Linked DNA regions of Homo sapiens: regions 1, 2, 3 and 4 are each linked to region 5. Evidence: promoter capture Hi-C in 16 types of primary human blood cells and fetal thymus (Javierre and others, 2016). All regions are on one chromosome and are shown on one strand. The core of a region is centred on a gene start or on the middle of the fragment in contact, and the rest is flanking DNA. Distances in the headings are between cores, read along the strand shown.

What was found. Contacts are between HindIII fragments. The CHiCAGO score rates a contact against its expected background, and 5 or more counts as called.
Region 1: a contact is called between a fragment that was not itself captured here and the fragment with the promoter of KRT72 in region 5, in 13 of 17 cell types (naive CD4 T cells, erythroblasts, total CD8 T cells and 10 more). The highest score is 15.6, in naive CD4 T cells.
Region 2: a fragment that was not itself captured here is called in contact with the fragment with the promoter of KRT72 in region 5 in 7 of 17 cell types (M2 macrophages, M1 macrophages, total CD4 T cells and 4 more); the score reaches 7.4 in M2 macrophages.
Region 3: a fragment that was not itself captured here is called in contact with the fragment with the promoter of KRT72 in region 5 in 1 of 17 cell types (M2 macrophages); the score reaches 6.0 in M2 macrophages.
Region 4: a fragment that was not itself captured here is called in contact with the fragment with the promoter of KRT72 in region 5 in 1 of 17 cell types (naive CD4 T cells); the score reaches 5.0 in naive CD4 T cells.

Annotation. Positions count from the first base shown.
Region 1 is chr12:52,863,577-52,866,330 of GRCh38, forward strand. No RefSeq gene overlaps it. Among named protein-coding and RNA genes, the nearest start is that of KRT78, 16 kb to the left of the region's middle. The HindIII fragment of the contact is 5,339 bases long and covers 1-2,754 here.
Region 2 is chr12:52,890,474-52,893,173 of GRCh38, forward strand. No RefSeq gene overlaps it. Among named protein-coding and RNA genes, the nearest start is that of MIR9898, 7.2 kb to the right of the region's middle. The HindIII fragment of the contact is 2,470 bases long and covers 56-2,525 here.
Region 3 is chr12:52,959,613-52,962,476 of GRCh38, forward strand. No RefSeq gene overlaps it. Among named protein-coding and RNA genes, the nearest start is that of KRT18, 12 kb to the left of the region's middle. The HindIII fragment of the contact is 7,526 bases long and covers 1-2,864 here.
Region 4 is chr12:52,980,411-52,983,110 of GRCh38, forward strand. No RefSeq gene overlaps it. Among named protein-coding and RNA genes, the nearest start is that of EIF4B, 25 kb to the right of the region's middle. The HindIII fragment of the contact is 1,123 bases long and covers 823-1,945 here.
Region 5 is chr12:52,600,015-52,602,748 of GRCh38, forward strand. It overlaps KRT72 (keratin 72), which reads right to left and starts at 1,449. Exons shown (of 9, transcript NM_080747.3): 1 at 1,013-1,449. The coding sequence starts at 1,438. The HindIII fragment of the contact is 8,078 bases long and covers 1-2,734 here.

The DNA of each region.
Region 1 (2,754 bases), core at 169-2,668, 260 kb after region 5:
GGCATGGTGGCACACACCTATAGTCCCAGTTACTTGGAAGACTGAGGTGGGAGGATCACTTGAGCCCGGGAGGTTAAGGCTGCATTGAGCTATGATTGCACCAATGCACTCCAGCCTGGACAGCAGAGTGAGACCCTGCCTCTAAAAAAAACATAAATAAGTAGAAGGGCCGGGCGCAGTGGCTCACGCCTGTAATCCCAGCACTTTGGGAGGCCGAGGTGGGCGGATCACGAGGTCAGGAGTCGAGACCATCCTGGCTAGCACAGTGAAACCCCGTCTCTACTAAAAATGCAGAAAATTAGCCAGATATGGTGGCACATGCCTGTAGTCCCAGCTACTCAGGAGGCTGAGGCAAGAGAATCGCTTGAACCCAGGAGGCAGAAGTTGCAGTGAGCCGAGATCACGCCATTGCACTCCGGCCTGGGCAACAGAGCGAGACTCCATCTCAAAAAAAAAAAAAAAAGTAGAAGGAATACATTCTAAGATAATGATAAAAAGTAGAGTAAATATACAAGCCAGTAACATAGTCCTTTACTACCATGATCAAGTAATAATATGTACTGTATGTAATTTCATGTGCTATATATTGATACAATTGGCAGCACAGTAGGTTTTTTACACCAGCATCTTCACAAACACGTGAGTAATGCCTTTTGATACATTATGATGGCTACGATGTCAATAGGCAAGAGGAATTTTTCAGTTCCATTATAATGTATGGAACCATTGTCATATATGCACCATACATACAACAGAGACCTTGTTATGCAATGTGTGACCATACTCATGTGTCTCATATAGCAGTATATTCTACTGCAATAGATGCATCATCTATTCATATTAATACGTATTTCCAGGCCCAGTGTGGTGGCTCACTCCTGTAATCCCAGCACTTTGGGAGGCCGAGGCAGGTGGATCACTTGAGGTCAGGAGTTCGAGGCCAGCCTGGCCAACATGGTGAAACCCTGTCTCTACTAAAAATACAAAAATTAGCCAGACATGGTGACGGGTGCCTATAATCTCAGCTACTGGGGAAGCTGAAGCAGGAGAATCATTTGAACCAGGGAGGCAGAGGTTGCAGTGAGCTGAGATCATGCCATTGCACTCCAGCCTGGGTGACAGAGTGAGTCTCCATCTCAAAAAAAAAAAAAAAAAAAGCCAGGCACAGTGGCTCACACCTGTAATCCCAACACTTTAGGAGGCTGGGATAGGTGGATCACAATACGAGGTCAGGAGTTCGAGACCAGCCTGACCAACATGGTGAAACCCTACTAAAATATAAAAATATAGTTTTTATATCTACTAAAAATATAAAATTAGCCAGTCATGGTGGCGCACGCCTGTAATCCCAGCTACTCAGGAGGCTGAGGCAGGAGAATTGCTTGAATCCAGGAGGCAGAGGTTGCGGTAAGCCAAGATTGTGCCACTGCATTCCAGCCTGGGCAACAGAGTGAGACTCTGTCTCAAAAAAAAAAAAAAAAAAAAAAAAAAAAAAAAAAAAAATATATATATATATATATATATATATATATTTCCCATAAGTGGGATCATATTACACATATGAATTTAAGCAGGCTTTCCCCCCATATCTGTCAATAAACACATCCTTAGATTACTGTGAAAGGCTCAGAATATTCTCTTGCAAGATTCTCAGGGGTTTTCACAAGTCCACTGCCTGATATCTTCCCCAGAGGAGATCTGAGCCTTGGTCTAGAAACCTCATCTGATCACAGACACACACACGCACAGGCACACGATCACGCATACACACACTGGAGTCCATAGGAGCCAGAGATGGTGGTTCACCAGGCAGCCCAGTTTAATCCAGTCCTGCTCTCAGACACCTGTCCAGGATTTTCCAGGGCCCAGACCCATTCCCGGTATTTCCTTGCAAGCAGGAGCAGGAGCAGGAGCCAGTTTCTCCCACTCTTGACTCCCCCTGCAGGTGGCCAGGATTCTTGCAACCCAGATGCCTGGGAGCTGGGCTGGACGCCTGGAATGGAAGCAAGGGGCAGTTCATGATCTTCCTGGAAGCCTCTTCTGTGCCACCACCTCCCTGGTGCCTGATGTGGGGATAAGGCCAGAGGCCCCCAAATGGGGACTCAGAGCGCTGGTGATTCCCAGGCCTTTTTCTAGACCTTGAGAAGTCCAAGTAGGCCCTGGGCCAACCTGGGAAAATTCACAGTGCATAGACTCTCTCGGAAGCTCTCTTGGGATCCTGGAGACGCCTTGGGCAGAACACAAAATGAGGCTGAGGATCAGGGAGAGAGGGGCCCTAGGGGCTGATGGTCAAGATCAGATCAGGGGTCTGACACTATGGGTTCAGACACTGTCTTCACTACGGCCTAGCCATGCGGCCTCAAGCTAGCGACTTAACCTCTCTGTGCCTTCCTCCATTTTCCAGCTATCATAAGGGGATAATCGGCCAGGCATGGTGGCTCATGCCTGTAATCCCAGCACTTTGGGATGCTGAGGCGGGTGAATTACCTGAGGTCAGGAGTTCGAGACCAGCCTGGCCAACATGGCAAAACCCCATCTCTACTACAAATACAAAAATTAGCCAGGCGTGGTGGCAGGCACCTGTAACCCCAGCTATTCAGGAGACTGAGGCACAAGAATCACTTGAACCTGGGAGGCTCGGGTTGCAGTGAGCCAAGATCGCCCCACTGCACTCCAACCTGGGTGACAGAGCAAGACTCAGTCTAAAAGAAAAACAAAAAATCCGGGCGTGGTGGCTCATGCCTGTAATCCCAG
Region 2 (2,700 bases), core at 41-2,540, 290 kb after region 5:
TGTCTTGTCTTGTGGTGTCAGAAGACTTTCTTGGGGAAGCTGCGTTTGAGCGGAAAGCTTGGGAGTGACTAGGAAAGGCAGGGTGTTCCAAGCAGGGGGCCAGCCATGCAATGCCCTGAGCAGAAGCAAATTCCATGTAGGCTATGCCCTGAAAAGCCTGCACCACTGCATCAGAGAGCAAGGGACAGAGTGGCCAGGATGAGGCCTCAGAGGAGGAAGAGTAGGCACAGCCTGTGGGCCAAGTCAAGATTTAGGGCTTTATTCTGGGTGTCAAAAGTAAAGGGTTTTCCCATCATTCTGAGCAAACTATTGCAAGGGCAGAAAACCAAACACCGCATGTTCTCACTCATAGGTGGGAATTGAACAATGAGAACACTTAGACACAGGGTGGGGAACATCACACACCAGGGCCTGTCGTGGGGTGGGGGTAGAGGGGAGGGATAGCATTAGGAGATATACCTAATGTAAATGAAGAGTTAACGAGTTAACGGGTGCAGCACACCAACATGGCACATGTATACATATGTAACAAACCTGCATGTTGTGCACATGTACCCTAGAACTTAAAGTATAATAAAAAATAAAGAAAGAAAAGAAAAAAATAAAATAAAAATAAAGGGTTTTCCATATAAGGAAGTAACTGAATCTGATTCATATTTTTGAGAATGCACTCTGATTTTGGGGGCAGTGAACTATTCTGTATGGTACTGTAATGGTGGCTACATGGCCCCCACAGAATGTCCACACTAAGAGTTAACTCTAATGTGAACTATGGACTGTGGGTAATAATGATGTGTCAATGTAGGTTCATCAATCGTAACAAATGTATCCCTCTGAGGTGGGATGTTGATGATGTTGTAACAAATGTAGCCCTCTGGTGTGGGATGCAGGTGTAGGGGCAGAATGTGTATGAGAACCCTCTACCTCCTGCTCGATTTTGCTATGAACCTAAAATTGCTCTTTTTTTCTTTTTTTTTTTTTTTTTTTTTTTTGAGACGGAGTCTTTCTCTGTCGCCCAGGCTGGAGTGCAGTGGCATGATCTCAGTTCACTGCAAGCTCTGCCTCCTGGGTTCACACCATTCTCCTGCCTCAGCCTCTCGAGTAGCTGGGACTACAGGCGCCTGCCACCACACCCAGATAATTTTTTTGTATTTTTTAGTAGAGACGGGGTTTCACCATGTTAGCCAGGATGGTCTCGATCTCCTGACCTCGTGATCCACCCGCCTCAGCCTCCCAAAGTGCTGGGATTACAGGCATGAGCCACAGCGCCTAGCTAAAACTGTTCTTAAAAAATAAGTCTACTAAAAAAAAGTGCACTCTGGCAAGGGGCCCAAGTGAACCTTCTGTGATATAGGAAATGTTCTACATTACAGGTGTGAACATAAGTTAAAACTCATCAGGCGCCGGGCACGGTGGCTCACGCCTGTAATCCCAGCACTTTGGGAGGCTGAGGCGGGTGGATCACCTGAGGTCGGGAGTTGCCTGACCAACACGGAGAAACCCCGTCTCTACTAAAAATACAAAATTAGCCCGGCGTGGTGGCGCATGCCTGTAGTCCCAGCTACTCAGGAGGCTGAGGCGGGAGAATCGCTTGAACCTGGGCAGCGGAGGTTGCAGTGAGCCGAGATCGTGCCATTGCACTTCAGCCTGGGCAACAAGAGTGAAACTCCATCTCAAAAAAAATAAATAAAAATAAAAATAAAAAAACTCATCAGGTTGTACATTCCCCATTAAAGCACATTTTGCATTTTATTGTATGTACAATATGCCTCAGCAAGGAGGAAACAAAGGGACTTGTGATTGGCCAAGGCTGGCCCATTGTGAACCCTGTGTGCCTGGACAGAGGTCCTGTGATCTTAGGAGGAACAGTTCCTGAAAAGAAGTGGGGCGTGGCAGGAGTGGAGGTGGGGGAGCTTTGCATTACTAGAAGAAGGGGGAAGGGGTCCTGGCTAGACAAAGCAACTATGCCCACCACAATGTGTAAAAGGGCAGCGCGGAGAGTGAACTAGGGGGCCACCCACCATGCTGGTATCCTTCCCTGCCTTCCTTTCCTTGCAGTGGTGCTTCCTCTTCCTTTCCCAACAGGTAGAATCTATGATATATAATTACGTAGGGACATGCATGCACACATTTCTATCTATCCTTCATGAAGGGTATGTACTGTCCGCATTGTCACATGCCTTGCTTTAACATTCACTCCTCCATTCCCACCACCTTACACTCCAGTCAGCCTGGCCCTCGGTCCTTAGCCCACCTTCAGATCCCCCTACTACAGGGGAGCTCCTAGACCACCTTAGCCCAGATCAGCGGGCAGGCAGAGCAAAACCTTGGAATTAAAATATCTTCAGAAGAGTCCACAAATGCTTGGAAGACTCATCATTTTAATCCTGGGTGGTTGGGTCGGGAAAGGCAGGGTGGAGGGAAGTGGGGGATAATGGCTGGCTCATCTGGAATAGTCAAACAGGAACCTTCTTCTACACATGTAAATTTTCTAAAAAACTAAAATTCAGTCCCATAGGAAATCAAGCTTTAAAAACAAAAAGTCTACTAAAATTTAAATGTGCACACATTTTGCTTCAGCAATTCCACTTGTAGGAATTATTAAGATATCCTCACCATTGTCATAGCAAATACCAATAGAGGACTGGTTAAGTAAATTGTGGCACATCCCAAAGTGGAATATTATGCAGCTGTGAAAAA
Region 3 (2,864 bases), core at 350-2,849, 360 kb after region 5:
TGCACCACTGCACCCCAGCCTGGGCGACAGAGCGAGACTCAAAAAACAACAACAACAACAACAACAACAACAAAAACAATGTACACGTTATCTTACAGTTTGTTATCTTACCGTTTGGTATATCAGAAGCCCTATCAGGGCTTCTGCAGAGCTATTTTCCTTCTACAGGTTGTAGGTGGAACTGGTTTCCTTGACTTTTCCAGCTTCTAGAGGTCACCTGCATTCCTTGACTTGGTCCCATCTGCCATCTTTAAAGCCAGCATCTTCAAATCTCTCCCCACTTCCCTCTCTCCTGACTTCTGCTTCCATTATCCTCACATCTCCTTTCTCTGACCCTTCTGCCTCCTTCTTATAAGGATCCTTTGATGACATTAGATTTACCCAGACAATGAGCATAATCTCCCCAACTTAAGATCTTTGATTTACATGGCAAGGTCCCTGTTGCTGTGTAAGGAAACTCACAGGCAAAGAGGGGCGGTTAGGATATGGACATCTTGGGATGGGAGGGGACCATTATTCAGCCTACCATAGGAAGGGGGCAGCAGATTGCAGGATTTTTTGTTTTTGTTTTTCTTTTGAGATGGAGTTTCATTCTTGTTGCCCAGGCTGGAGTGCGATGGCTCAATCTCAGCTCACTGCAACCTCCGCCTCCCGGGTTCAAGAGATTCTCATGTCTCAGCCTCCCGAGTAGCTGGGATTACAGGCATGCGCCACCATGCCAGGCTAATTTTGTATTTTTAGTAGAGATGGGGGTTTCTCCATGTTGATCAGGCTGGTGTCAAAATCCCAACCTCAGGTGATCCACCTGCCTCAGCCTCCCAAAGTGCTGGGATTATAGGCGTGAGCCACCACGCCTGGCCAGCAGATTGCAGTTTTAAGTAGGGCAGCCTGGGCAGGAAGTGACATTGGGCCAAGACTGAAGGAGATGAGGGACCTAGCCTGGCATATCTTGGGGATCAGCAGCGAGGATGGGTCCTGGGTGTATGAGCAGCATCTCTCAGCCCCCGACCTGCACATTCAGGTTTGCCCTTGTATGTACCCTTAGGTCTCCTTGGGGCCCACAGGGCATTGGGAAAGGGTCGACTGCCAACGTACCTTGCCCCAAAGCTCCTCCTCATCCCCCCTGCACCCTGCCACTGAAGGCCCTCACAGGCCACCAGTCTAAGTCCAGCAGCCTCCCCTCTCTCCTCATCTTTTTCAGCCTCTGCAGCACTTGACCCTGATGTCCTTCTGCTCTTGACCTGCACACCACTGCGCTCCGCAGTCCTCTCACCTCTGCCTGCTGCACTTCATCCATCTGCCCTTTAAACACAGGCCTTGCAGGCTGTCCTCAGCTTTTTCTCTTCTTGGGCCTTTTTTTTTTTTTTTTGGAGATGGAGTCTAACTCTGTCGCCCAGGCTGGAGTGCAGTGGCACAATCTTGGCTCACTGCAACCTCCACCTTTGGGGTTCAAGCGATTCTTCTACCTCAGCCTCCCAAGCAGCTGGCATTACAGGTACCCACCACCAGGCAGCTAATTTTCTGTATTTTTAGTAGAGATGGGGATTCACCATGTTGGCCAGGCTGGTCTTGGACTCTTGACCTCAAGTGATCCACCCACCTCAGCCTCCCAAAGTGCTGGGACTACAAGTGTGAGCCACCGTGCCTGGCCATGGACAATCTTATTTTTATTCCCTGACTCTGTTGCTACCTCTGAGCTGGTATCTCAATATTTACCTCCAGCCCTAGCCTCTCTTGAGCTTCAGAACCGTGCTATATTTTCCAACTGCCTTTGTTTCATTTCATCATGTGGCATACTTAGCTATTTATGTCATCTTCCCCATGAGACTGGAAATGCCTTGAAGACAGGTACCCTATTTTTTTGTTTCTTTGGTTTGTGTTATTGTTTTTTGTTTGTTTGTTTTGTTTTGTTTTGAGACAGTTTCACTCTTGTTGCCAAGGCTGGAGTGCAATGGCGTGATCTCAGCTCACTGCAACCTCCACCTGCTGGGTTCAAGTGATTCCCCTGCCTCAGCCTCCCAAGTAGCTGGGACTACAGGCATGCGCCACCACACCCAACCATTTTTGTATGTTTAGTAGAGATGGGGGGTTCACCATGTTGGCCAGGCTGGTCTCAAACTACTGACCTCAGGTGATCTGCCCACCTCAGCCTCTGAAAGTCCTGGGATTCCAGGCGTGAGCCACCGCACCCAGCCTACCCTGTTTTCTTCATCCTGGTGTCATCCTGGATTGGTCATATAACAATGGCAATTACCATAATAACCAGTATTTGGTTTTTTTTGGGGGGGACAGAGTTTCACTCTTGTCACCCAGGCTAGAGTGCAATGGCACGAACTCAGCTCACTGCAACCTCTGCCTCCCAGGTTCAAGTGATTCTCCTGCTTCAGCCTCCCAAGTAGCTGGGATTACAGGCGTGCACCACCATGCCTGGCTAATTTTTGTATTTTTAGTAGAGATGGGGTTTCACCATGTTGGCCAAGCTAGTCTCAAACTCCTGACCTCAGGTGATCCACCCACCTTGGCCTCCCAAAGTGCTGGGATTACAGGCATGAGCCACCGCGCCTGGCCAGTAACCAGTATTTACTGAGCACTTTCTATGTGTCAGGCACTGTGCTAAGCACATTACATATATTAATTCACTTAATCCTAACAACAACCCTATGAGACGGATAGTATTACAATCCTCATTTTACAGGTGAAGAAACTGAGGCTCAGAAAGGTAAACTACCTTCCTTAAGGTCTCACAGCTAAATAAATGGCAAAGCCAGAATTCAAACCCAGGCAGTCTGGCTGCAAAATCCAAAGGCAGTAGTTGGAATGGATTGGCATTCAGCTCCATTCCAAATTGGTACCTTTCTGCTTCA
Region 4 (2,700 bases), core at 134-2,633, 380 kb after region 5:
GGAACAGAGGAAGGGAGGAAAAGCCATGGCGACAGGGTGACACTTATAGCAACAAGTTGTATGGTGAGGGGGGCAGGTTAAGGGATGAGGCTGCAGAGCTCCCTTGAACTATCCCTTTAAGCATTTTGTAATGACTCCTATCCCTTTAAGCATTTCATAGCAAGATCTGCACCTGTTTGAGTTATTCTGTTTTATTTCTGGCACTGCATCAATATAGCCATTTGTTTTATTAAATGACTCTGATGGCATTTTTTTTTTTTTTGAGATGGAGTCTCGATCTGTCACCCAAGCTGGAGTGCAATGGCATGATCTCAGCTCACCGCAACCTCCACCTCCTGGATTGAAGCTATTCTCCTGCCTCAGCCTCCCGAGGTACGCACCACCATGCCCGACTAATTTCTTGTATTTTTAGTAGAGGCAGGCTTTCACCAAGTTGGCCAGGCTGGTCTTGAACTCTTGACCTCAAGCCTCGGCCTCCCAAAGTGCTGAGATTACACATGTGAGCCACCACGTCCGGCACTGATGGCCTTTTTGACTTGGTGACTCCAGCTGTCCCTGAGAAAAGCAGTCTTGCCTCCCTCTGCCCCCTGGTGGCCTTCTAGGTGCAGAGACCATTGTTCCAGTCATCCTGGCTACTAGAATGGCTTTGATTTTCTGGCTTATAGCACCACCATTTGGCCAAATTTGCTAATAGGCGGCTGCTCCATCCACATTGACTTCCAATTTCTTTTCAACCTTCTCATTGGCAGAGTTCATGGAATCAGAGCCTCTTGGAGCTTAAACAACGTCAGTGGACGTAAGAGCTCTCCAGAGCCTCAAGCAAGCTTGCAGTTCATTCTGGAGGGCCATGCTAGCGGCACAGACAGAATGGCAGTGATCATGGTGCAGGAGTCGAGGAACTGGCCCTGTGAATGTCAGGCATGTGTCCCCCTGGGTTTCCTGGTCCTTCCCTATTTGCCCTTGCCCTGACACACCTCTCATCCTCCTTCATGCTGCCTCCTGCACAATGCTTCTCCAGATTGGCTCAGTCCTATTTACACAGTCTTTGATCTGGTGTTTATGTCTTTTTTTTTTTTTTTTGAGACTGGTCTCAAACTCCTGACCTTGTGATCCACCCGCCTCAGCCTCCCAAAGTGCTGGGATTACAGGTGTGGGCCACTATGCCCGACCTATGTCTTTATTTTTTTTTTTATTTTTTTTTTTGAGACGGAATCTTGCTCTGTAGCCCAGGTTGGAGTGCAGTGGCACGATCTCGGCCCACTGCAAGCTCTGCCTTCCAGGTTCACGCCATTCTCCTGCCTCAGCCTCCCGAGTAGCTGGGACTACAGGCACCCGCCACCACGCCCAGCTAATTTTTTGTATTTTTAGACAGAGATAGGGTTTCACCGTGTTAGCCAGGATGGTCTCAATCTCCTGACCTCGTGATCCGCCCGCCTCGGCCTCCCAAAGTGCTGGGATTACAGGTGTGAGCCCCTGCACCCCCGCCCGACCTATGTCTTTATAATAATACCTAATATTTATATAATGCTTTGCAGTTTATGAACTATTTTATTTTATTTTTTATTTTTATTTTTTTGAGACAGAGTCCCACTCTGTCACCCAGGCTGGAGTGCAGTGGCATGATCTTGGTTCACTGCAACCTCTGCCTCCAGGTTTCAAGTGATTCTCCTGCCTCAGCCTCCTGAGTAGCTGGGACCACAGGCACGTGCCACCACGCCCGGCTAATTTTTTGTATTTTTAGTACAGACAGGGTTTCACCATGTTAGCCAGGATGGTCTTGATCTCCTGACCTCGTGATCCACCTGCCTCAGCCTCCCAAAGTGCTGGGATTACAGGCGTGAGCCACCAGGCCCAGCCTATGAACTCTTTTATACAGAACTACCACTCTTCAAGTGCTTACTGTGTGGCAGGTACTGTGCTAAGGATTTGAAATAAATGATCCCTAAGCTTTCCAAGATAGGTAAGTATAAGTGGTCCCATGTTATGAAAAAGGAAACTGCCAGGCGTGGTGGCTCACGCCTGTAATCCCAGCACTTTGGGAGGCTGAGGAGGGCGGATAACCTGAGGTCAGGAATTGGAGACCAGCCTGGCCAACATGGCGAAACCCTATCTCTACTAAAAAAATACAAAAATTAGCCAGGCGTGGTGGCAGGTGCCTGTAATCCCAGCTTCTCAGGAGGTTGAGGCAGGAGAATTGCTTGAACCCGGGAGGTAGAGATTGCAGTGAGCCCAGATTGCACCATTGCACTCCAGCCTGGGTGATAGAGTGAGACTCCATCTCAAGGAAAAAAAAAAAAGAGAGGCTGGGTACAGTGGCTCAGGCCTGTAATCCCAGTACTTTGGGAGGCCAAGGTGGGCGGATCACAAAGTCAGGAGTTCGAGACCAGCCTGGCCAACACAGTGAAACCCCATCTCTACTAAAAATACAAAAATTTGCCAGGCATAGTGGCGCACGCCTATAGTCCCAGCTACTCAGGAGACGAGGCAGGAGAATCGCTTGAACCCAGGAGGCGGAGGTTGCAGTGAGTTGAGATCGCACCACTGCACTCCGGCCTGGGCAACAGAGTGAGACTCTGTCTCAAAAAAAAGAAAAAGGGAACTAGGGTTTCGGACAAGACCAAATGACATAGTAGAAAAAGCTTTGAAGTCAGACCAGATCCAAGTTTGAATTATTTATTTGTTGTTGAGTATCACAAACTG
Region 5 (2,734 bases), core at 199-2,698:
GGTGGAGACAAGAGAAGTCCATTCCCTGTCTCCTCTCCACTCACTGGGGTCATTGCCTCAGAAGCTCCAGAGACAACTTCCCTATTACCCCAATTTCTGGATGCCCCACCCTCAGCACACACCTGTAACTTTACATGCACTCTTTCCAAGTGCCTCCTCAGCCTCACCCTTCAGTTTTCTGGCCCTTTTCTCTCACCTCCTCTATCATCTTCCTGGCTACACACTTACCCCACTCCTCAAGCACCAAGCACCATGTCCTGCAACGTCTCTTGGCCTCTGTTCCTAATGCCCTGCCCTGAATGTGGGTCCCATCTCCTCTTCTGATATTGGGAGCTCTCAAAGTGCCCATTCCTTGGACATCCTGACCCCTCCCTTCTCACAGTCTTGTCTCATGCAAGAAAGAAATGAAGGTCCTTGATACGTTTTGGCTGTGTCCCCACCCAAATCTCAACTTGAATTAAGTCTCCCAGAATTCCCACGTGTTGTGGGAGGGACCCAGGGGGGAGGTAAATGAATCATAGGGGCCGGTCTTTCTCCTGCTATTCTCCTAATAGTGAATAAGTATCACGAGATCTGATGCGTTTATCAGGGGTTTCCGTTTTTGCTTCTGCCTCATTTTTCTCTGGCCGCCGCCATATAAGACGTGACTTTGGCCTCCCGTTATGATTCTGAGACCTCCCCAGCCATGGAGAACTGTAAGTCCAATGAAACCTCTTTTTTTTTTTCCCAGTCTCGGGTATGTCTTTATCAGCAGCATGAAAATGGGCTAATACATCCTGTTTATTGGAAGTATGTGCCAGGCACTGTTCTGAGCACTTCGTAAACATCCCAATTAAGCCTCATCGCAACCCACTGGAGTAAGACCCATTATTGTGCCCATTTTACAAATGGAAAAGGGAGGCTCGGAGAGGTTATGACCCGCCCACGCTCCCACACAGCTCGCCAGTGGCAGAGCCAGCACCACTGTGCACATGCGCCCAACGCAGGGACAGGCCAATGCCCGAGGACTCACCTTGTCGATGAAGGAGGCGAACTTGTTGTTTAGCGCCTTGATCTGCTCCCGCTCCTGGGCGCGCACCCTCTGGATCTCGGGGTCCATCTCCACGTTGAGCGGGGCCAGGAGGCTCTTGTTGACGGTGACCTGAGGGATGCCCCCGGGTGGGCACACGGAGGGACACTTGGGCCCCAGCCCGGCGCTGCCGAAGGCGGTGCCCACGAAGCCGCCCAGGCGGCCGCCGCCCCGCCGTGCAGCAGCGCTGAGCGCCAGGCTTCGGCTGCCCCCAAGGCAGGAGAGGCTCTTGCTGCCAAAGGAGGCCGAGCCCTTGACCCGGGCCCGGAATGAGGCGGAGCTGCTGCCGATCCCGCCAGAGAGGACCGCGGAGCAACCGCTGAAGCCCAGGCGCTCCCCGCGGGGGAAATGGGTCAGTTGGCGGCTCATGGCTCGCAAGTACCGGTGCTGGCCGCGCGGGAGGCAGAAGGGGCGCAAACAGCCGCTGCGTTCTCGGCCCAGCTCGCCCCTTAAATAGCCTGGCTGGCTGGAGTCAGCCTAATTTGTATGTCGACAACACCTTTTAGATCCCTTGAGGCCTCTTGGGTTCTTCATGTAGGAAATTACCATGCACTCACCGAGATTTTTGTCTGTTCCACCGTGAACTCCCCATGAATCCCTGTAAAGTGACCCAGAACCCAGCATTTACTTGGCTCACCTCCTGCATTATCATGGCTTAGCGACCTTATCTCCACCTGCTGGCCTCCAATTACTGGGGTTATCACTCCCAAGATCACCCCTGGAAACTTCCAGTGGGGCTGACCCTCTGGGTGTGTGTCTGGGGAGACGGAGGTGTGTGAAGCAGAAGTCCAGGCTGCTTCTGCTTCAGAAGGCCATGAATAGAGTCAAGACTATCGCAGAAAATCATCCTTAGCCTGTCCTCCTCCTGCCTCCCAGGCTTCTGGATGAGGACAGCTCTGTCCCTTGTGCAAGAAGGAAGTTCAGAAGGAGGAGATTTTGGCCCCGTCTGCAGAGACCTCTCAGTCTGTTGGAGAAGGCAGGACACAGAGACCTCTGGTCACAAGTGTTGAGGGTTGACTTTGGACCAGAGCGAAAAGATTTCTCCACTAAGCATTTCTGGACTAAGAATGGGGACCATGCTATCTGGGAGGGAGGGAAGAAGGCCTGGGGAGGTGGTACAGGAAGACTCAGGCATGGTTTAGCAGATGGTGTTTCCTAAGGCTTTCGGTTGTTTTCATTTTTGTTTTCTTTTAATAGCAGAAGAGGCTTATTTATCCCATCCAGCAAACCTCTGCTCAGGTCATTTGCCACCCAGTCATTTCTGATTCAGCATCAAAATGTGATCAGTTATTAGGAAGAGGTCAAGACTCTTCAGATCTAAAACCAAGAACTAGATTCTAGAACTTCATTCCCTTTAAGCTACAGAGGCTCCTTCTTCCACCTAACCCGATTTCCTTTTCTCAAACTTAAGCTGCCTTCAAGTCTCCTCCTCTCTTAGCAACAGCTCTCCTGTTCCTCTGGCATGCAGGTGGGATTATTTCATTGCTCTTATTTCTTAAGCTGCCAGAGTCCTGGGTGTGTGTTCCATTTCCTCTATCAGATTGACAGGGCCCCCTGGATTCACCCTTCCCTCCTCTGCTCCCCCAGTGCTCAGCCCAGGCCTTGGCCAAAGGGACATTTAGGATGATTGTGAAACAGCAGAGTGCTTAGGGCAAGGCTTGTTAC